Linked DNA regions of Homo sapiens: region 1 is linked to region 2. Evidence: promoter capture Hi-C in 16 types of primary human blood cells and fetal thymus (Javierre and others, 2016). All regions are on one chromosome and are shown on one strand. Each heading gives the region's core, a stretch centred on a gene start or on the middle of the fragment in contact. The rest is flanking DNA. Distances are from core to core; before and after follow the strand shown. Region 1 has its middle 26 kb from the start of CLRN3. Region 2 holds the start of PTPRE (protein tyrosine phosphatase receptor type E).

The links. The method cuts DNA at HindIII sites, captures the fragments that hold promoters and counts their contacts. A CHiCAGO score of 5 or more calls a contact.
Region 1: a contact is called between a fragment that was not itself captured here and the fragment with the promoter of PTPRE in region 2, in 1 of 17 cell types (M2 macrophages). The highest score is 5.1, in M2 macrophages.

The regions. Positions count from the first base shown.
Region 1 is chr10:127,864,153-127,869,464 of GRCh38, reverse strand. It overlaps the pseudogene BUB1P1. Among named protein-coding and RNA genes, the nearest start is that of CLRN3, 26 kb to the left of the region's middle. The HindIII fragment of the contact is 2,842 bases long and covers 1,362-4,203 here.
Region 2 is chr10:127,902,725-127,908,642 of GRCh38, reverse strand. It overlaps PTPRE (protein tyrosine phosphatase receptor type E), which reads right to left and starts at 1,540. Exons shown (of 21, transcript NM_006504.6): 1 at 1,334-1,540. RefSeq lists silencers at 1,577-1,696, 4,627-4,848. The HindIII fragment of the contact is 4,276 bases long and covers 1-2,665 here.

The DNA of each region.
Region 1 (5,312 bases), core at 1,533-4,032, 40 kb after region 2:
TCAGTCAAGAATTTTGTATCCAGCAAAGCTAAGTTTCATAAATAAAGGAGAAATAAAATCTTTCTCAGACAAGCAAATTCTGAGGGAATTTGTTAATATTAAACCAGTCCTGAAAGAAATGTGAAAAGGAGTTCTAAATCTTGAAACTAAAGGTTGATACACACAGAACAGAAACTCCTGAGAGCATAGAATTTACAGGGTTTATAAAACAATAACACAACGGAGAAAAAAAAGTTACTAGGTAACAATCAATACAATGACTGAAACAGTAACCTACATCACAATGTTAATGTTGAATATAAATGACCTAGATTCTCCACTTAAAAGATACAGATTGGCAGAATGGATAAAAAATTACAAACCAAATATCTGCTGTCTTCAAGAGACACAACTAACATGTGAGGGTTCATATAGACTCAAGGTAAAGGGGTGGGAAAGGATATTTTGTGCAATTGGAAAACAAAATGAGCAGGAATAGCTATTCTTATATCAGATAAAACAGGCTTTAAAGCAACAACAGTAAAAACAGACAAGGAATGACATTATATAATGATAAAAGGACCAATTCAATCAGAAGACATAACAATCCTAAATATATATGCATTTTTACATATAATAAAATCTGAGCTCTCAGATTCATAAAAATATTACCATTAGACCTAAGAAAAGAGATAGACAGTAACATAATAATAGTGGGGGACTTCAACACTCCACAGATAGCACTAGACAAATCATCCACACTCCTCCAAGTATGGGGTGGTGATGTCCCCAGTGACAAGTTGTGCAGTTTGATGCCAATGCCTTGATACTGTGGTAAGGTCAACCCATCTCACCCACCATTGCTTTTCCACCATCTGTTCAAGTATCCCCAAAGAAAAAAGGAAATAACATCTAAGTATTGTGATGAAAATAGTTTTGATCTTGCAAACCTCACAGTGTAGTCTCAGGAGCCTCCAGGAGTCTGGGACCACTTTTTAAGACCCGATGCTATAGATGCCTCCCACCGAAACTCTGCCATTCTGGAATAAATCAGACAAATCTAGTTTATTAAATAAATGTCACACACCTGGTTTTGGTCTTCCCATCAGTTAGGTTTTGATATAGAATTTTCAGGAATCCAAAAAGTCCTGAATCTTGAAGACAATCTTCTATTTCTTTAGTGATTATTTACTTTCCTGTGGGTAGCTTCTTAGACTTGGGAAAAGGTCCTTTCTTCAAAAGGTGATCAACGGAAAACAGCAAAAAATTCAGATTAACCTGTTAACTTGGAGTTTGTATCACTATTAAAAAGCATTTGAATAGTTATTCACTGATTTAGAGAAAATAATCTCATCATCTCGTGGGTCCTCAACACTAAAGCTTATAGTGTCAACACTTCCAAATGGCTTGCATCTAATCTTTGGAAGACTCACTCTGCCATCAGCAATTGACCTTTGTGCACAGCCAGTCTCTGTGTTAACCAGTCCAAGGCCCTGCTCCACCTGGTCTGTAAATATACTCCCTGAAGCTGGACTTCTTAGAGTGAGTGAGGTTGCTGAATATACATCTGTTGGCCATAACTGTTCTGGACTCTTCTTTTCAACAGAGTCTCACTCTGTCACCCAGGCTGGAATGCAGTGGTGCAATCATGGCTCACTGCAGCTTCAACCTCCTGGCCTCAAGTTATCCTTCTTCATTGCCCTTTCAAAGTGCTAAGATTACAGGCATAAGCCACAATGCCCAGCCCTGGACTCTTTCTTTGAATTGGAATTAATTTTTCTTGTCTTTTTTTTGTGTGTGTGAGATGGAGTCTCGCTCTGTTGCCCAGGGTGGAGTGCAGTGGCATGATTTTGGCTCACTGCAATCTCTGCCTCCTGGGTTCAAGTGATTCTCCTGCCTCAGCCCCCTGAGTGGCTGGGATTACAGGTGCACAACATCATGCCTGGCTAAGTTTTTTTTGTATTTTTTAGTAGAGGTGGTGTTTCTCCATGTTGGCTAGGCTGGTCTTGAACTCCTGACCTCAGGTGATCGCCCTCCTTAGCCTCCCGAAGTGCTGGGATTACAGGCATGAGCCACCATGCCTGGCAAACTTTTCGTTTTGTGAGGGCTCCGTTATGTCTTTATAAAAATTCAAAGTTATACAATAGTTTGTAATCACATGTTTTTTTTTTTAAAATCTTCAAGAGCTTTCCCTGCATCATCTGGAAGTGTGTTCAGTAGTGTTGGAAGCAAGCTGTGTGGCAAATGTAAATCCTCCTGCTTTTAGGTTTTAAATGCACAAGCCAGGTTCTGTTGTAGCAGAAGCTCCCAGTGGGAGGGCCACCCAAAAACCCTGTAGCATGAAATACTTCATTTTATCTTGAAGGAAATCTGCTTGTTGCATGCTCTCCAAAGGATCTGGCTCCTGCCTGTAGGTTTAGTTTTAGACTGATGTATTCCATAATTTTCTTTGTTTCTATCTTTAAATGCTGGAGAACAGGCTAGGAAAGAGGGAGGAATAATTGTATTGACTCCTCAAACTACAGAAGACTTAAAAAAAAACTAGGTTGTGTTTAAATTGCATCTTCATCTTGATCCAAGGTGACCATTTATCTTTGTCACCAGCAACACTCAGGTCTACCCTCTGCCAGGACAGTGGCTTCCAGATGACTAGTGTGCCCATTGGACTATTGGACTCTACACACAATGGTCTCAGATCTCTGTATTTGTTTAGTTTCTGGATTTTTCCTTTCTAGATAAATGCTCTCTTTTCTTGCTGCTTGTTTTTTCTTTCAGTTTGCTTCTCTGCTGTTTAGACACTCATTTGTAGAAGGCCATGACCCACTTCTAATTTGCTGATTCTAGTTTTACGTGAACGTAACAGCACCTAGCTGAGCTTCCTGGCCCCATCCCTTCTTTCAACAATGCATGGGCATCCTTCTTGGGTGAGCTGCTATGCTGACTGCTGGAAATGTGGAAATACATGAAGACAGTAGCGGAATAAGGACAGTGTACCACAAGCGCCCAGTGGAGGGAGGAATTATCTGGATGAGTCAGTAGTAAAGTCGTCCTAGAGGAAGAGATCCTTTTACTGAGGCTTGAAGGACGACTAGGCGATTGTCCTGGAAGTGGGAGGCGGAGGATATTCTGGCCCCTGTCCTGGGGAATTCTCTTTGAGAACTGCTGTTTGAACCAGTTTCCAGGCCACACAGGAAAACAGCCCCCTTCCTTGAGAGCCTTGTCCCCAAGTAACATTCCACAACTCAGTCACAGTCTTGGTTCTGAATCGGCTGATTCCAAAGGCTAAATAAATCTACCTGCAAGAAGGTTTTCTTCCATTCAGGCTGCTACCTTGGGCTTCTGAGGCAATTCCTAAACCTGTTTTGAGAATGGTCACATGATTGAAATAGGTAAACAGTCTTCTATAGTAAGTAGGAACTGTTTCTAACCTGCAGTTAGGTTTCTAAATTAGTTTTTGTTATGCTGTAACATAGAACTCAATTGGAACAATATTATCAAAGGAAGGTTAAGATCCCAAGATGGTCTCCATTTTGCAACTAAGAATCTATATATTAATAAAGCCTTTGAAACTAATTTCCATGTTTTACTCTGTTTCTATGGAGAATGACAGTTATGGAAGTTGGAGATGTGGAGAACGTGGTTACATCCATGCATGGGATGTGACGAAGCAACTGAAAATCACGCTTGAGGAGATGATATGTACAATATGATGTATGAAAAAGGCAGGAGTGAGATTGTTAACACAGGTGCCTCTGGGTGGTGAGGCGTACTGGGTTTAATTTTTCCTAACACTGTCCTGTTAAAACAAAAGTCCTCCATATTCACACAATGCTTCTAATACCAAATGTGTAGTTATCGACACCAAATTCCCCAATTCTGTGGGGACACCAGCTGGGTGTCCTACAATTTAATCCACTTCTGACACTATCTACCTGGAGTCTGGGCAGACTCCCCAAATTAAAGAGCTTACCCTCCCAAGACTGCCCCACTTCAGACACCAATCACAAGTAGTGGGTCCCCAGGTTACCCACACTTCTCTCCATCTTGGCTGCAAATCAGAGGTTCCCCCATTCCCCCCCTCTAGTTTGATAATTTGCTGTAATGACTCACAGATTAAGGGAAACACATTACTCCCTATTACCAGTTTATTACCAAGATACAACTTAGGAACAAATGGCAGAGACACATAGGACAAGGTACTAGGGGGTAGGGTAAAGAGAAGCTTCCATGCTGTCTCCAGGCACAGCACCCTCCCAGCTCCTCGGTGAGCTCACCAACCTGAAAGCTTTTTGAACTCCATCATGTGATGGTTTTCTGGGGGCCTCATTGATGAAGGCATGATCACTAAATCGTTGGCCATTGATGATTAAGTCAATCTCCAGCCCTTTTCCCCTCTCTGGAGGCTGGGGGTGAGGTTGAAAGTCCTAATTCACTCATCAGGCCTTGGTCTTTCTGGTGACCCACCCCTATCCCGAAGCGACCCTATGGGCTCCCAGCCAGCAGTCATCTCATTAGTAGAGAAAAGACACTTATCACTCTGGAGATTCCAAGGGTCTTAGAAGTTCTTGTGTTAGGAATGAAGGACGGAGACCAAATATTATAACAAAAGATGCACCTATCACCCCTATCACACAGGAAAGTATAAATAACCAACAGAAATTTATTTCTTGCAGTTCAGGAGCTTGTGTCAGGAACCAGGGACAGAGACCAACTATGCATTTCTTATGATGTCATAATTAGCATGCATTACTTTTATATTTAGCAACAATATTCAACGTTTTCCTTTTTAAAAAGGAAGAGAACAGAAAATGGGGAAAATTAATTCACTTTTCATAAGGTCTGGAGGTTTTAGAGCATTAGCCAGAATCATAGGAAAGGGGTAAACTTGGAATTGCAAAGCTTGCTGGGGGTTTGATTTCAACTGCAAAACTGAGAGCATGTGACTAAAATGCTGGTCCAGTTGCTCATCACTTGTAGAATCCAGTTAACAAGAGTGAGGTCTGGTATAAAGAAAGTAGCTTTTTCACTCTAAAGCTGGCTTAAGGGAATAAGTATAAGCTTCCTGCCTAAGGGTACCATTTAGCTTTTGGAGAAGAAAGTGAACACTTGTAAGGGAGGCCTAACATGAACGGCATGTGGTAGGCGGGCTATCGGGGAGTCCAAGGAGGCAGGAGTGGGGGAAGTGAGCAGTTTTGGGGCCCATGTGTTAGCTTGGTAGATGCAGTCAAGCTAGTGATGGCTGGTGTCTTCGTGGGCATGCATACTTTGAGTTGTAAATCTACTGTTATCTCTTGAGGCAACTTCTTGGTGGGTGAGTTCCCTTCTGAAGCTCC
Region 2 (5,918 bases), core at 291-2,790:
TTTGCTCCCCAAATGCCAAGAGCCTGTGCTTGGAAAGTACAGACCCTAACCCTGTTCACACCACAGAGCTCTGCCCATACCATGCTGGCTGAGTGACCGTGGTGGTCAGACGCTTGCCCCAGCCACTGGCCCCCACCATTTCATGCCCTCCTCTGGCCATTATCCCAGTTTTGGAAACGACCCTCCACACCCCCCCTCCCCACCCACATACACACAGTTTAAATGGACAAGAGTCGTTAGTGTGCAGAGGCAGAACTTCATCCATCTTTGGGACACAAAGACCTCCAGACGCCCTGGGTCAAGGGGTACCTGGGGCCAAATGCAGAGCTGACTGGACATGGACACAGTAATTTCTGTATCACGTGATCACTCTTTGCTGGTGTTCATTCAACTCACCTATACGCTCATTCACTCTAAAATACAAGCAGAGAGCTGTATTCTTTCTTTGAGTTTCCTGGATTGAAACTCTGATGGAATGGTCACGACTCAAGACAAACCAATATCATAATTCTGCAAGTATAATTGCCTAATCTTTCTGGAAAGGTTTGCATGCCTGGAAGGAATTTAGGTCAGGTCCAGCGCGGTCTCCATCCGGCTTGGCTCTGCCTCCCCATCCTGTGGGTTGCCCGGCCTTCCCCAGATGGTCCCGGGAGCTCTCAGAATTGGCACCGCGCTCGCATCTGTGCTCAGGAGCCCTGTGAGGTCGTCGACCCTGCAAATCGCGGCAGTCCAGCCTGGACCACCTGCCAGGGTCTCCCTGCCGCATCTCCGACCCCCGGCGGCTGCTGCATCCCGCTCCACCTGCCTCCCTGGGAAGGCGCGGGCGCCCGCCCGGCTGCGGGGCAGCATCCTGGCAGAGCGCCGGCCCCTCCCAGAGTTGGCACAACTCGAGCCACTTTCTTCAAAGGCTCCAGCCTCCAGCCTCGAGTGGGCGCAGCCCCCCACGCGCGGCCTGCACCCCCTCTCTGTGTCGCCCGCTTTCACGTACGCCGCCCTGCCGCCGGCCCCCGCGCACTGTAGCCACCCGCAGACACGCGCGCCCTCCTCCTGTTTACCGAGAGGGAGCGTGAGCACTGCCACTGTGGTCGCCAAGTTGGGCTGGGGACTCCGGGTGAGGGGACGCGCCACAGGCCGGGGTCGGGGGTCGTACGGGCCCCAGCCGCTGGTACTGGGCGCGCCGCGGGGGCGGCGGGGCCGGGGTCCGGACTCTGAGCCCCGGAGCGGCCCCTCCCTCCCGCGGCAGCGGCCGAGGCAGCGCCCCGGCCTGCTTGGGCCTCCCGGGGTGCACAGTTCCCCACAGGGGCGCAGGGTCCCTGTCCGCACGCGCGCTCACCTCGGGGGGGCCGGTCTGGTCGCGCAGATCGCGCTGCAGCGGAGGCTCCGCATCTCCCGGGCGCCTGCCCGCCGCCCTCCGGGGCGCCCGGCTGTCTTCGCCGGGCGCGAAGAAGGGTCGCGGGGACGCGCAGAGGCCGTGGGTTCCTGAAGCCGCTCGCGCCGGCTCCTGCCGCCCGCTGTCCGCAGCCTAGCAGGAAATTTGTCCGGCCGGCCGCGTCCCGCCGCCGCCTCGGCTCCAGCTCCGGCTGTGGCTCCGCGGCGGGGGCGGGGGCCTGGGCGCTGCGAGGAGCGGGGGCGACGCCTGGTGCCCGGCGCGGGGAGCGCATCCAGGGCGCCCGCCCCACCTGCGAGGCGGGTATGGCCCTGAGGCCCTGCGGCCCTGCCCTGGGAGCACCCAGACACTGTGGGCATCCGTTTACTCAAGGCTGGTGCCCCTTCCGGGGAGGCCTGGTCCAGCCACTCCGCCGGGACCCAGGTGCGTAGACAGAGGGTCAGGGTATGGCAGGCACTCACACCTGGTGGAGAGCAAAGGCAAGGCCCTGCCTCTCCCTGCCCTATCCCTGTGCACCAGGAAGTGGCCTGACTAGGGACTCGCCCTGGTCTTGCAGCAGGTGTGGGACACGCAGGGCACCCCGTGCGCTTCTGGTGCGAGGAAGCTGGGAGAGCTGTGAGGTCGCTGGGCCTGGTGGCCTCCTCTGGAAAGAGGAGGGGATAAGGCGCCTGTCTGGGGGATGTAGAAGAGGGCTCGCTTGTCCCGAAGGCAGTATCTGTCAAAGTTAAAAACGCACAAAGAGAAAGAAGAGCGACAGAGCCAGGCACTGGGCCTGCTGTCTAGCCGACTTCTTCCAGGGAATTTCACTCAAGCTATTTAGGGAGCTTTCAGAGAAAAGGCAGTTCCCTGGAAGGAGCAGAAAAGACACTGGTGGCATGTTGGTTCTGAACCTTTGTGCCGTGCCCTCTGGATGGGGCCACGGCCCAGCCCTCATGAGGGAAGCTGCATTCTGTGGTAGGGACCCAGCTCATTAGGCTTATGAATGAATGAATGGATGGGGAGAAAGTGGCACTTACGGTGTGTTACCCCACGTTGCACCGATTGCCAGCCGACGACTCTTAGCATACTTAAGGCCTGTTTAGACAGAGCTACGGACCCCAAAGGCTGCAGAGCAATGGGTGCCTCCTGGCAGAGGCCACCCCCACGTGATTTGCCCAGAGTGGGACTTCCCCTCCACAGGGGCCGGAGAGCTGCGAAACCAGTGGAGAACTTGAGCTCCACCTCCCTGCCCTGCCCTGCCCATTTCTGTCCCTGGGGGCCTTGTCTAGCCCCAAAGCTTTAAACACCATCCGTATGGGAATGACTCTAAGCAGCACCACTCTGGGGCCCTCTCCTCCAAGCTCAGCTCCTCCTGGCTGTCTCCTGCTGTCTCAGACCTGCCTCTTGCTCTTACTTAGTTTCTCTGCAGTCGTCCCTGTCCCTGCCTCCGTGTCCCACCTCAAGTCCACCTCCCAGAGGGCCCAAGTCCACTTCCCACTGGCTTCTCCATGCATCTTGCCCTTTCATCTCACTGCCTGCGCCCCTCCAAAACCTGCAGTGGCTCCCCAGCTTCTGACCCACTCTCCCAGATGATCCATTCTTCACACTTGGTCCCAGGCACCTCACAAAGTGTAAACCGGGTCCTGCTAGCCCCCTGCTTAAAAGCCTCCAGGAATATTAAAACCCAAACTCCCACGAGGCTCTGCCTGACTTCCCTGGCTGCTCTGAGCCTCTCACCCCTGCCCGCTGGGCTCCAATCACGGCTCCTTTCTCTCAGTGCCAGAGCCAAGCTCCTTCCTGCCTGGGACTCCTCCAACCAGTGCACCTGGTTCCTTCTTACTGGTGGCTTCTGGAAGATCGCCCTGCATCCATCTCTTCTGCCACTCTCTTCCACATCCTCCATCACAGTTTGGAATTATTTGTGGGTTTATTGGCTCCTTTTGTGTCTGTCGTGCCCTCTTCCCCTACCCCCAGGGCTGTAAGCTCCAGCAGCCTAGGCTCTGTTGATCTCCATGGCTTCTCAGACTCAAGCTCCTAAAGCAACGTCAGTAGCCAGGAGGTGCTCAGTGAAGGCGTCTGGGCTGTCAGAGCAGAGGAGGATGGGCCCCAGCCAGCAGCAGCAGACAGCCTGGTCACCTCGGAGCCCAGCAGGGCGGGTGGCTCCCTCCTGAGTGCACCTCCAAGGAACAGCCCAGGTTGAGGTGGGGCCAGGTAGCACATGACGTCACCAGGCTTTGGATTTTTCTGCTGTTGTGGTCTACAGAGTCAGGCTTATGTACATGAAGGCCATAATTACAAAGCTCTGCTAAGCACAGTTTTGCTTGTTAACGCTGCAGGGCTGAGGAGGCAGAGACTGTGAGCTAAGAAGACAGAAACAACTTGCCTTTGTCAGACATCTGCTATTGGAAAGTGAACAGCCTTGGTAACATGATGGGGAGGCAGATGGCTCTTCTTTCCTCATAATATCTTCTCTGCTGGACCCCAAAAATTCTCAACCCTTTCTAAAGTCTACAGACATTCATCATTGTCACACAGAAGCGTGTTGTCAGAAGTGTTTGTGCCAGGGCCCTGTTGATTACCACAGGGAAGCCCTTCATCCTTCTTCACCATCTTCATTTTTGCCTCTCATAGGCTCAAGGTCCCTATTGACATCAGAGTCAATTCCCCTATCCTCCTCCCAGGCTTTGAGGAGCTCCTCTGCCTCTTGCCCTCCTGAACACCTCACCACTCCTCTTTTAGGGCCCTTCTTGAGTCCACAGAGTCCTCTTCAGCTCCCTGGCACACTGGCTGTCTGATCCTGTCTCAGGCCTGTCCGTGGCTGGCCTCCTGCCCGCTCTCCCCAGGCCTCCCCTACACCCAACCATTTAGCCCCTTCCCTCTAAAACACAGCTTGAGGCAGTGCTCCTGCGATTATTGATATTAACTGCACTTACTTGTCTTGTCTTCTATTTTACTTGAGGACTGGGCTTTTGGGTTTCTCTGCAGAAACTGAGATACTGCCCATCATGCTTAGAGGGCCCAATAGATGTCAATTAAAATTAAAATGCTGAGGCCAGGAATACTGTCTAGGAGAATAAGCAAAAAAAAAAAAAAAAAAAAAAAGGCAAAATCAATGTGTGGAAAGCAAATAAGAAGTTGCTTTTAAACATCATACAGAAACATTCTCATAAAGTTATTCAACCTTAGGAGGAAAAAAGCAGGTCTTGATCATTGATTGGCTGTGGGGCAGGGCAAGGAAGGAAAAACTGAGTGATATGGTTTGGCAGCATCCCCACCCAAGTCTTATCTTGAATTGTAGTTCCCGTAGTCCTCATGTGTTGTGGGAGGGACCCTGTGGGAGGCAATTGAATCACGGGGGCAGGTTTTTCCCATACTGTTCTCATGATAGTGAATAAATCTCACCAGATCCGATGGTTTTATAAAGGGCAGTTCTCTTTATAAAGGGAACATGCTCTCTTGCCTGCCGCCGTGTAAGATGTGTCTTTGCTCCTCCTTTGTCTTCTTCCATGATTGTGAGGCCTTCCCAGCCATATGGAACTGTGAGTCCATTAAACCTCTTTCCTTTGTAAATTACCCAGTCTCAGGTATGTCTGAACGGACTAATACACTGAGACAACACCAGAGTCCTTCAATGATTTTGTTCAGGCCCTGTTCCCACCAAGAGGTAACTTTTAGTAACCACAGTCAGGATGGTTATTCTGATCTCAAGGATGTACTAGATTGAATAACAAATAGGTTCAGAACTATCTATTTTTACATTACCCAACTATTCTTCCCTCTCCTCCTCTTTTTCCAAGTTATGCCCAAGTGTTAACAATTACTGAAATCAAGAGGACAGATCTTTTTGCTGGAAGATTCCTCTACTCACCCAGAAAAAACAATAATTAGGCCCTCCCCCAGATCCTTACCACATTTGAACTCTTCGTTTTTTTCTTGGATTGCTTTTCACTGATGAAGAGTACACACGCATTCTACAGATCTTAAGGGATACGCCAATGAGTAAAGACAAGTGTATAAACTAGTGAAATGCATACCCATCTCAAGGCAGTAAACATTTCCATCATTGTAGAAAGTTATTTGATGTCTCTTCCCCCAATAGAATCTCCCCACTCTTGCCAAAGATGGCCATTATTCTGAAATCTATCACCATAGGTAGTGTTACCTGCTCTGTATCTTCATATAAATGGAATCACATAGTATCTCATTTCTAATTTATTTTAGGCAGCAAACTCTTTTTGAGATTCATCCTTTATTGCTTATTATCAGTAGTTTTGGTGATGTACCCTTTTCCTCTAGTTGATTTTAAAATCTTCTCCTTATCACTGTTTTCAAGAAATTTGATTAAAATGTGTCTCGGTGTTGTTTTATTTTATTTTATGTATTTATTCATTGAGGTGGGGTCTTTTACTGTTACCCGGGCTAGAGTGCAGTGGTGTGATCATAGGTCACTGCAATCTTGAATTCCTGGGCTCAAGAAGTCCTCCTGCCTCAGCCTCCTGAGTAGCTGGGACTACAGGCATGCACCACCATGACCAGCTAATTTTTAATGTTT